2 separate regions of the Homo sapiens genome follow, and region 1 is linked to region 2. Evidence: promoter capture Hi-C in human tissues and cell types (Jung and others, 2019). All regions are on one chromosome and are shown on one strand. Each heading gives the region's core, a stretch centred on a gene start or on the middle of the fragment in contact. The rest is flanking DNA. Distances are from core to core; before and after follow the strand shown. Region 1 overlaps CSNK1G1 (casein kinase 1 gamma 1). Region 2 holds the start of ANKDD1A (ankyrin repeat and death domain containing 1A).

Evidence for each region. Contacts are between HindIII fragments. The study calls those that stand out against the background at their distance.
Region 1: a fragment that was not itself captured here is called in contact with the fragment with the promoter of ANKDD1A in region 2 in 1 of the 25 tissues and cell types used here (dorsolateral prefrontal cortex).

What each region holds. Positions count from the first base shown.
Region 1 is chr15:64,273,505-64,277,516 of GRCh38, reverse strand. All of the region lies in intron 2 of CSNK1G1 (casein kinase 1 gamma 1), which reads left to right. Among named protein-coding and RNA genes, the nearest start is that of CSNK1G1, 81 kb to the left of the region's middle. The HindIII fragment of the contact is 3,728 bases long and covers 1-3,336 here.
Region 2 is chr15:64,910,340-64,914,699 of GRCh38, reverse strand. It overlaps ANKDD1A (ankyrin repeat and death domain containing 1A), which reads right to left and starts at 2,798. Exons shown (of 15, transcript NM_182703.6): 1 at 2,736-2,798. The coding sequence starts at 2,769. RefSeq lists an enhancer at 2,043-2,586 and silencers at 2,773-2,952, 3,153-3,202, 3,276-3,570. The HindIII fragment of the contact is 17,737 bases long and covers 1-4,360 here.

The sequences.
Region 1 (4,012 bases), core at 223-2,722, 640 kb after region 2:
GTAAAAGTGTGTGTATATGTATTATTTTATGTATGTACATATGAATGAATGAATGACAGGGTCTCACTCTGTTGCCCAGGCTGGAGTGCAGTGGTGCAATCACAGGTCACTGTAACCTTGAACTCCTGGACTCAAAGGATCCTCCCATCTCAGCCTCCCAAGTAGCTAGGGCTGAAGGGTGCACCACAATGCCTGGCTAATTATTTAATTTTTTTGTGGAGGCAGAGTCTCACTTTGTTGCCTAGGCTGATCTCAAACCCCTGGCCTCAAGTGATTCTCTCACCTTGACCTCCCAAAGTTTTTGGATTACAGGTTTGTGCCACAGCACCCAGCCTCCAACTTTATTAATAACATCTATATTTCCTCTCAAAACTTGCATCACTGTCTAGAATAGAGGTCTATATTCTTATTGGCAGGAAAATATATTTGACTATTTTGTCTAATGATCAAGTTCAAGTCACTGACGTTGCATGGTTCTAGTTCTTCCGGAATTGATTGCTTTACCTTGAACTCTGTTCATGATTGTTTTTTCACTTTCAACTATTTTCTTTTTCTTTTTTTTTTTTTTTTGAGATGGAGTCTCGCTCTGTCACCCAGGCTGGAGTGCACTGGTGCGATCTTGGCTCACTGCAAGCTCTGCCTCCCGGGTTCACACCATTCTCCTGCCTCAGCCTCTCAAGTAGCTGGGACTACAGGTGCCCGCCACTACCACCAGCTAATTTTTTTGTATTTTTTATTAGAGACAGGGTTTCACTGTGTTAGCCAGGATGGTCTCGATCTCCTGACCTCGTGATCCACCTGCCTCGGCCTCCCAAAGTGCTGGGATTACAGGCGTGAGCCACCGTGCCCAGCCTCAACTCTTTTATTTTTCAAAGGACTGTTGTACCTTTTTTTTCCTACCTGGGTGGCTGAAATATCTCATTGGTACGTCACTCTTTTTCATTTTCATGGGTTCCCATTTGACCTTTTAATTTTCCACATTCATATTCTAGAGGTCTTCAAATAATAAATGATCCGTCTGTTCTGAAAAAGTACTTCAATTCTGTTTCAGACCCATAATGAAATATTTACTGATAAAATGATGTAACATCTGAGATTTGTTTCAAAATAATAAAGTTACTGAAATTGGGTAGGTTACATGGGGGAAAATCATATGCCTTTGAAGTTATGCATAAAAATTTTAAAAATACAAAAATACTTTGGTATTTCTCTGCTGCAGAAAATCATACTTTCTAGAATGATTCACTCCAGTTTTTCTGCCCACCACTATAATATAGAACATTTTACAAATTTTCTTTGTAAAGCATAGGCCCTTGAAAGTACATAGACACTTTCTGAAAAATGGAGTATGAGTCCTGCTTTGATGCTATTTATAAATGACTTTCAACTTCTCCCTTTCTTTTGGCCCTGGCTGCCTTTTACCTCACTCCACGTAGCCTCACTTTAGACTTTCAGATGTTAGAAGCACTCTCATTTTTCTTACTAACAGATTAATCAGAATATCATGTGTAATACCTTAGGAAAGTTATATAGAAACTAGTCCAGCCACTGACCAGCTTTTCATTGCAAAATGAAATAATTGAAACTGCTTTTTAGAAGATTTTTATTGATGGCTCTTATTATTCTTTGATCATAACTCACACTAAAAAAATTGTGATTTAATATACACATAGTTAATATCTGTGTATATGAAGTTTCATGAAATAATATTTTATCCTTACTGAGTATAATGTACTCTGATACTTTTTATTTTATATATTTTTTCTTTAAAAAATTTGGTCAAGACATTCTTTAAAATCAATATTTGAATGTATTTACTTTATATCCCACTAATGGATCATGTTCTACACTTTAGAAAACATTTGAGCATTGTCTGTCTTGTTAATAATAAACATGCTGTATATACCATCCCAGTGATATTAAGCTTTAATAAGTTTTTCTTTTATTATAATGTACTTATTGTTGTTGATAGGTAAGCCCTTTAAAAAACTTGACACAAGAAAAAATTATTCTTGCCTTAACTACTAATCATTTGGGAAATGTTTCTGCATAGTATACTAATATTTTAATACTATTAAGTTAGTAAAAGTGAAAACATTATCTGCTTTTTTTCTTTAGAGTTGTATTGCTATCGTTATCTTCTTACCCCTAATCATACTGCTCACTTAAAGAGATGCTCTTTGGGCCGGGCAAGATGGCTCATGCCTCCCAGCACTTTGGGAGGCCCAGACGGGAGGCTCACCTGAGGTCAGGAGTTTGAGACCAGCCTGGCAACAAGGTGAAACCCATCTCTACTAAAATACAAAAGTTGGTTGGGTGTGGTGGCATGCACCTGTAATCCCAGTTACTCGGGAGGCAGAGGCAGGAGAATTGCTTGAACCTGGGAGGCAGAGTTTCAGTGAGCCAAGATCATGCCACTGCACTCCAGCCTGGGCAACATAGCAAGACTGTGTCTCCACAAAAAGAAGAGATGCTTTTTGGGTGGAGGTGGCAATAGGCCAACCTGTCCTCTTTGCCCTAAATAGACATGGTAATCATCTGAGTTATATAAAAGTAGTTACTTGTTTTAACTACTAATTGCCTCAAGTTCATTTGGCTGGATTTTTTACAAGTTCTAGGTAGTAATTTATACATGTACTATTTTCACTGAAGGGCAAGAAAATGTGACAGCTGGAGCTCTAACTAAACAGACTGTATGTTCCTTTATCAGTATGGCTCTGAGAACTGAGAACTCCTAGTTCTTTGAAATAATGCAGTGTCTGATGAAGCTTACGGTGAATGTTGTCTCTGTAGGTGACTTACAGAAACAGGAAGTCTTCATGCAGAGGGTTTTATGGACAGCATCACATCCAGGACTGCTGCTTTGAAAGGGCTGAGTTTAAATATAAAGCTCCAAAAACTACTGTGTAATGCAGTTCCTTTTCTATTAAGAATAAAGGAACCAATAGCCAGGAAGTGAGCTTGGGAAGCGTTGTGGATTTTGTGCAACAGATACTAAAAGCTTTCAGTGCTTGGGATTGTGCCAGCTCATCAATGGTACTTTTCTGTCCATTAAATGGCTTTCCTTCCTCATAGTTATTGGTATGCTTTTATTTTTATTTTTTTAGCTGAAGCAGTTATTTATTTTAAATGGGCAGGGTTTTAACATAATCTTTGTAATTAAATTCATCTGGAGCAAAATTTTTGAGTACTGTGTATTATTTAGGATAGTGGCTGAGTGATTGTCTAAATTTCTGAAACATGGCTGCATTTTGTGTTGACCTGTAAAATTTTAATGATGCATTTGTGCCCTTGCAAAGAAATTCATTTGAGGCAATGCTTAGCTCAGGAGACTTATCAAGTCACCTCCAGTGCCTCTTAAGAAAAAGGGTAACATGTATTTGATTCTTTTGGTGCCCTTAGAGAAATTAAGTAAACGCAAGCTAGCATTTTGTGATGTATCAGCCACTATGTTGGGTGTTACATAGGCTTGTCTCACTTATTATACTTCTGTGATTATACTCTTTTATATACATGTGAAAATAGAAGCTAAGAAGCATTTTATAATTTGTCTATCACTTTTAGGTTTAGTGAGAATTTGCAGGAATGCATCATAGTAGCGTGGAATGATATTGTTTACTCTCCTAACTAAGTCTGTTCTCCGCTAATTAAGAGCATCATTTAGACCAAGCTTGTTCAACCTGTGGCCTGTGGGCCACGTGTGGCCCAGGACAGCCTTGAATGCAGCCCAACACAAAATTGCAAACTCTCTTAAAACATTATGTGATTTTTTTTTTTTTTTTTTTTAGCTCATCAGCTTTTGTTAGTGTTCATGTATTTTATGTGTGGCCCAAGACAATTCTTCCAGTGTGGCCCAGAGAAGCCAAAAGGTTGGACACCCCTCATTTAGACCCTTCCGTTTTCCTTATCCCTCACATTACATGTAATCCAAACGTTGTTAGGTTTTCCTTCAAAATACCTTGCATGAAGATCCTATTCTAGTCCTCTTAGGAATTATTACCTCTTCTCTGCT
Region 2 (4,360 bases), core at 1,549-4,048:
CAAGTATTTTGGAGGCCCTGGCCACACTTGACCCTTCCTGATCCACCCACAGCTCACAGCAGGCCCAAAGGTGGGCACAGGAGGAACCCACAAAACTCTGCTTTTGAGCCAGGCATGGTGGCTCATGCGTGCAATCCCAGCACTTTGGGAGGCCAAGGCAGGAGGATGGCTTGAAGCCAGGAGTTCAAGACCAGCCTGGGCTAAAAAGCAAAACCTCCATCTCTACAAAAAAGTTTTTTTAAAAATTAGCCAGGTGTGGTGGCACATGCCTGTAGTCCCGGCTACTCAAGAAGCTAAGGCAAGAGGCTTGCTTGAGCCCAGGAGTTTGAGGCTGCCAATGAGCTATAATTGCACCTCTGCACTCCAGCCTGGGCAACAGAGTGAGACCCTGTCTCTAAAAAGAAAACAAAAACAGGCTGGGTGCAGTGGCTCACACCTGTAATCCCAGCTCTTTGGGAGGCCGAGGTGGATGGATCACGAGGTCAGGAGATCAAGACCATCCTCGCCAACATGGTGAAACCCCGTCTCTACTAAAGATACAAAAATTAATTGGGCATGGTGGCACACACCTGTAGTCCCAGCTACTCGGAAGGCTGAGGCAGGAGAATTGCTTCAACCTGGGAGCTGGAGGTTGCAGTGAGCCGAGATCATGCCAGTGCACTCCAGCCTAGTGACAGAGCGAGACTCCATCTCAAAAAAAAAAAAAGAAAACAGAAACAAAAAAATCTCTGCTTGTATGAGTGACACCAACAATCCCCAGACGAATAGATGCCTGTCCCCTCTCCCAAAGTGCTCACACATACTAGCACAGAGACAAATATTTGCTGGCCCTTTCCATAGTCACTGCAGGGCAAGTGACCCCATAGCCTGCATGTTTGGTCCAGTATGAATGTCTGAACCCAGCCCCTTTGTGTATCCAGGGACAGGTGACGAGTGTCTTGGTAGGGAAGGCTAAGATGCACTGAGGTGAGAGACAGGCCTGCCATGCAGTTTGTTTTTCTAGATAAATTCCACACAGTCTTCTCCAGATGAGAAAGAGGATCTTGAGCTTTCTGGGGCCTCATGGATACAACCTGTGGATCTCAGAGTTGCTACCCTGGGGGGCAATCACACAGTCCTGGGTTCAACTCTGGCTTAACCACTTCCTAGCTGTGTTAGGCAGTTTCCTCATCTGCAAAACAGGAGTGCGAGCTTCCCTACAAGGTTAATATCATGATTAGAAATGAGATATGAAAACCCCCTGGCACAGTGTCTGGCACATAATGACCACACCGCCACCACCACCACCATCATCATCACTATTATTCCTCCAAGGCAAAGGGTCAAATTCTGGTAGCCAAAGAGAGCTGCCACTTCAGATGTGAGCTTACAGAGGCCTGGGTTCTAGTACCTTCCCTGCCACTTTCCAGCAGCAGGATCCTGGGCTAGTCACATCCCCCTTGTAGGTCTGTTTCTTCCATTGTAAAACTGGGGGAGGGTGAAGAAAGAGATCTGTATAGGTCCCTTCCTGTCTGGCACCCTCTATCTTATGTGCAGCTTAGGGGGATTGGCCTGGTTTGTATTGGCAAACAGCCAGGAGTTCCAATGGGAAGCCAGCAGACACTGCATAGGGTCAGGCCAGAGAAGGTTAAGTTAGAATGAAATCAAGTCCAGTCTCATCTCTTCCATCCACCTCCCATCCGGCACCCTCTTTCTGGCCACATCCAATACCCACTGAGCTACCTGAGCCTTTGCCCATGCTGGGTCTTTGTCCAGAATTCTCTGCCACACACCCCAATGCTCCATTGGTACACATTCTTCGCAGGCCCACTCAAGTGATCCTCCGCCCCAGGCAGAACCATGTACCTAATCTTGATTGAGCATTCCCACCCCCAACACATCCCTCAGCTGAGTAGATGCAGTGTGCCAGCATTTTGGACACTATAGGTCTCAAAGGAATCCAGTGAGCTGCACTATGCGCTTTTGAGGGAAAGCCCCGGGATTCAGCTGTCAGGATTCAGCCAGGGCTGCAGGATCAAGGACTCACAGTGCAGACACCGACACAATCTTTCTCTCCCCTCTCCCAGACGGTGCAGCCAAAGCTGCCCCAGGCCAGCTGATGCCCACACAGACGCTGCTGCCCGGCCTAGAGGCCCTGGCACTGGGCGCACTCCTTGAGGGAGGTTCGGAGGTGCCCTCATTCCACCTGTGGCCAGTCAGGCTCCTCTCCTCTGAGTGCGTGCCCCATCTGATGCGGTCTCCACTCGCTATCCAGCCCCAGCATTCCGGGTGAGCTGGGCCCTTCAGCACTTCTACCACTCAATGGCTGTGTGACCTTGAACAACTCATTTGAACACCCTGTGCCTCAGTTTCTCATCTGCGAAATGAAGATAACATAATGTCCTACCCATATGGCCGCAGCGAAGATCAAATGACGTGCCTCTCCTGGGTCAAGGCCTGGCACACAAAGTACAGCACGCAGTCAAGGATCGCTATTACCTTTATTATTTGTAGCTAACCTCTCAGCCGCTGCTCCCCGCTCACCTGGCGGGTGTGGTCCCCGAGTCCCAGACGCACTGGCAAGGTCCCCTCGGCCCAGTGCGCGGACCGGTAACCATTCCGCTCGGAGCCACACAGACGCCCCACACGGAGGTGGCCGTTCGGAGGGCGCCAACCTCACCCCTGGCACTCCCCAAACGGATGCGGGGGTCCTCTCGGCCTCGGCCCGCCCCCCTCCCTCCTCCAGGCAGACTCACGGCCGTCGGTCTCCCACGCCAGCTCCTCCTGCATCCTGCCGCTCCGCAGCCCCTGCGCGCGCTGGTGCCCGGGCGCGAGGCGCGCGTCCGCCGGGGCGGGGCCCGGGGAGCCGAGAGGACGGGGCGGTCGCTCCTCCAGACTCCACGCCCCGCCTGCTAGGAGCGCAGCTGCCCCGGCCACCCCAGTCCCGGACCAGGACGCAGGTCCCTCCTCCTGCTCTCTTAACCTGCCCACCCCTCCGCGCCCGAGGCCGGCGGGTCGGGGCCACGCCGAGTTCCGCAGGTGTCCCTGACCCAGTCTCCTCCCCGGGAGTTCGCCCAGCCTCCCCGGCCCTGGAGATAGATGCGCACAAGGCATCTGGCAGGCTCATCCTCCTCGCGCCTCTCGGGACTCGGGGAGGAGGGCTGAGCCTTGGGCCCGCCGCCTCAGGCGCAGAAAGTCAAACCCCAAAGATGTGAGCTGGCGTTTAAGGGACCACAACCTCAGCAGGTCTGCAAGCATATGAAGAGATGGTCGGATTTATCAGTGTTCAGAAAGATTTATCAGGCCCATAAAGGGACATGTAGGAGGATGTTGGTTGCTGTGTTGCTGTGGTTGCTGGGAGTTGGAGACAATCTAAGCGCCCTTTCTTGTAAGAGCAGATGGATAAACTGTGCAGCACTCAAAGCAAGGGACCCGCTGTATTCGTGGCAATATGGATTTAAACACCTAGTGCTAGGCAGAAAAAGTAAATAACCAAACCAAATAAGACCTAGGAAACAATATCAATAAAAATATTACAAATGCATTTACATCAAACAACACAGACTTGCAAAGACACATAGAAACAAAAAGATACACATTAAATACACCAGAATGGGTTGCACTTCAGACCCTTGGGGGATGTCCATGTCCTTTTTGCCTTAAAGGCATTTACAGCTTCTTTGAATTTAGGGATAATGGGGTCTCAGGCATCTCTATCCCAAGGCAAGAAGCCAGCAAAGCCATGATAGGTGTAGTTACTACTACTTTGGGGATCAAAGGAGGAAGAGCATCTTTCAGTCATTAGTCCTTAGAATATAGTTCAAGAAGGCTTCCTGAAGAAGGAGGTATTTGGAATGGCCTTTGAAAAATAACATAATGATAACAGCTAACAATTAATGAGCCCTGAGCCAACCCCTCAAAATGGTCTCAAAATAACAATTCCAACATAATAATCAAAGATATGATTTTTTTTTTTCTGAGACAGAGTCTCACTCTTTCGCCCAGGCTGGAGTACAGTGGTATGATCTCGGCTCACTGCAACCTCTGCCTCCTGGGTTCAAGCAGTTCTCCTGCCTCAGCCTCCCATGTAGCTAGGATTACAGGCACTCGCCCCCACACCTGGATAATTTTGTATTTTTAGTAGAGATGGGGTTTCACTATGTTGGTCAGGCTGGTGTTGAACTCCTGACCTCAGGTGATCCACCTACCTTGGCCTCCCAAAGTGTTGGGATTACAGGTGTGAGCCACTGCGCCGCACCCCCCCCTTTTTGTTTTTGTTTTTTTTTTAAGACAGAGTCTCACTGTGTTGCCCAAGCTGGAGTGCAGTAGCGTAATCTCAGCTCACTGCAACCTCTGCCTCCCAGGTTCAAGCGATTCTCAT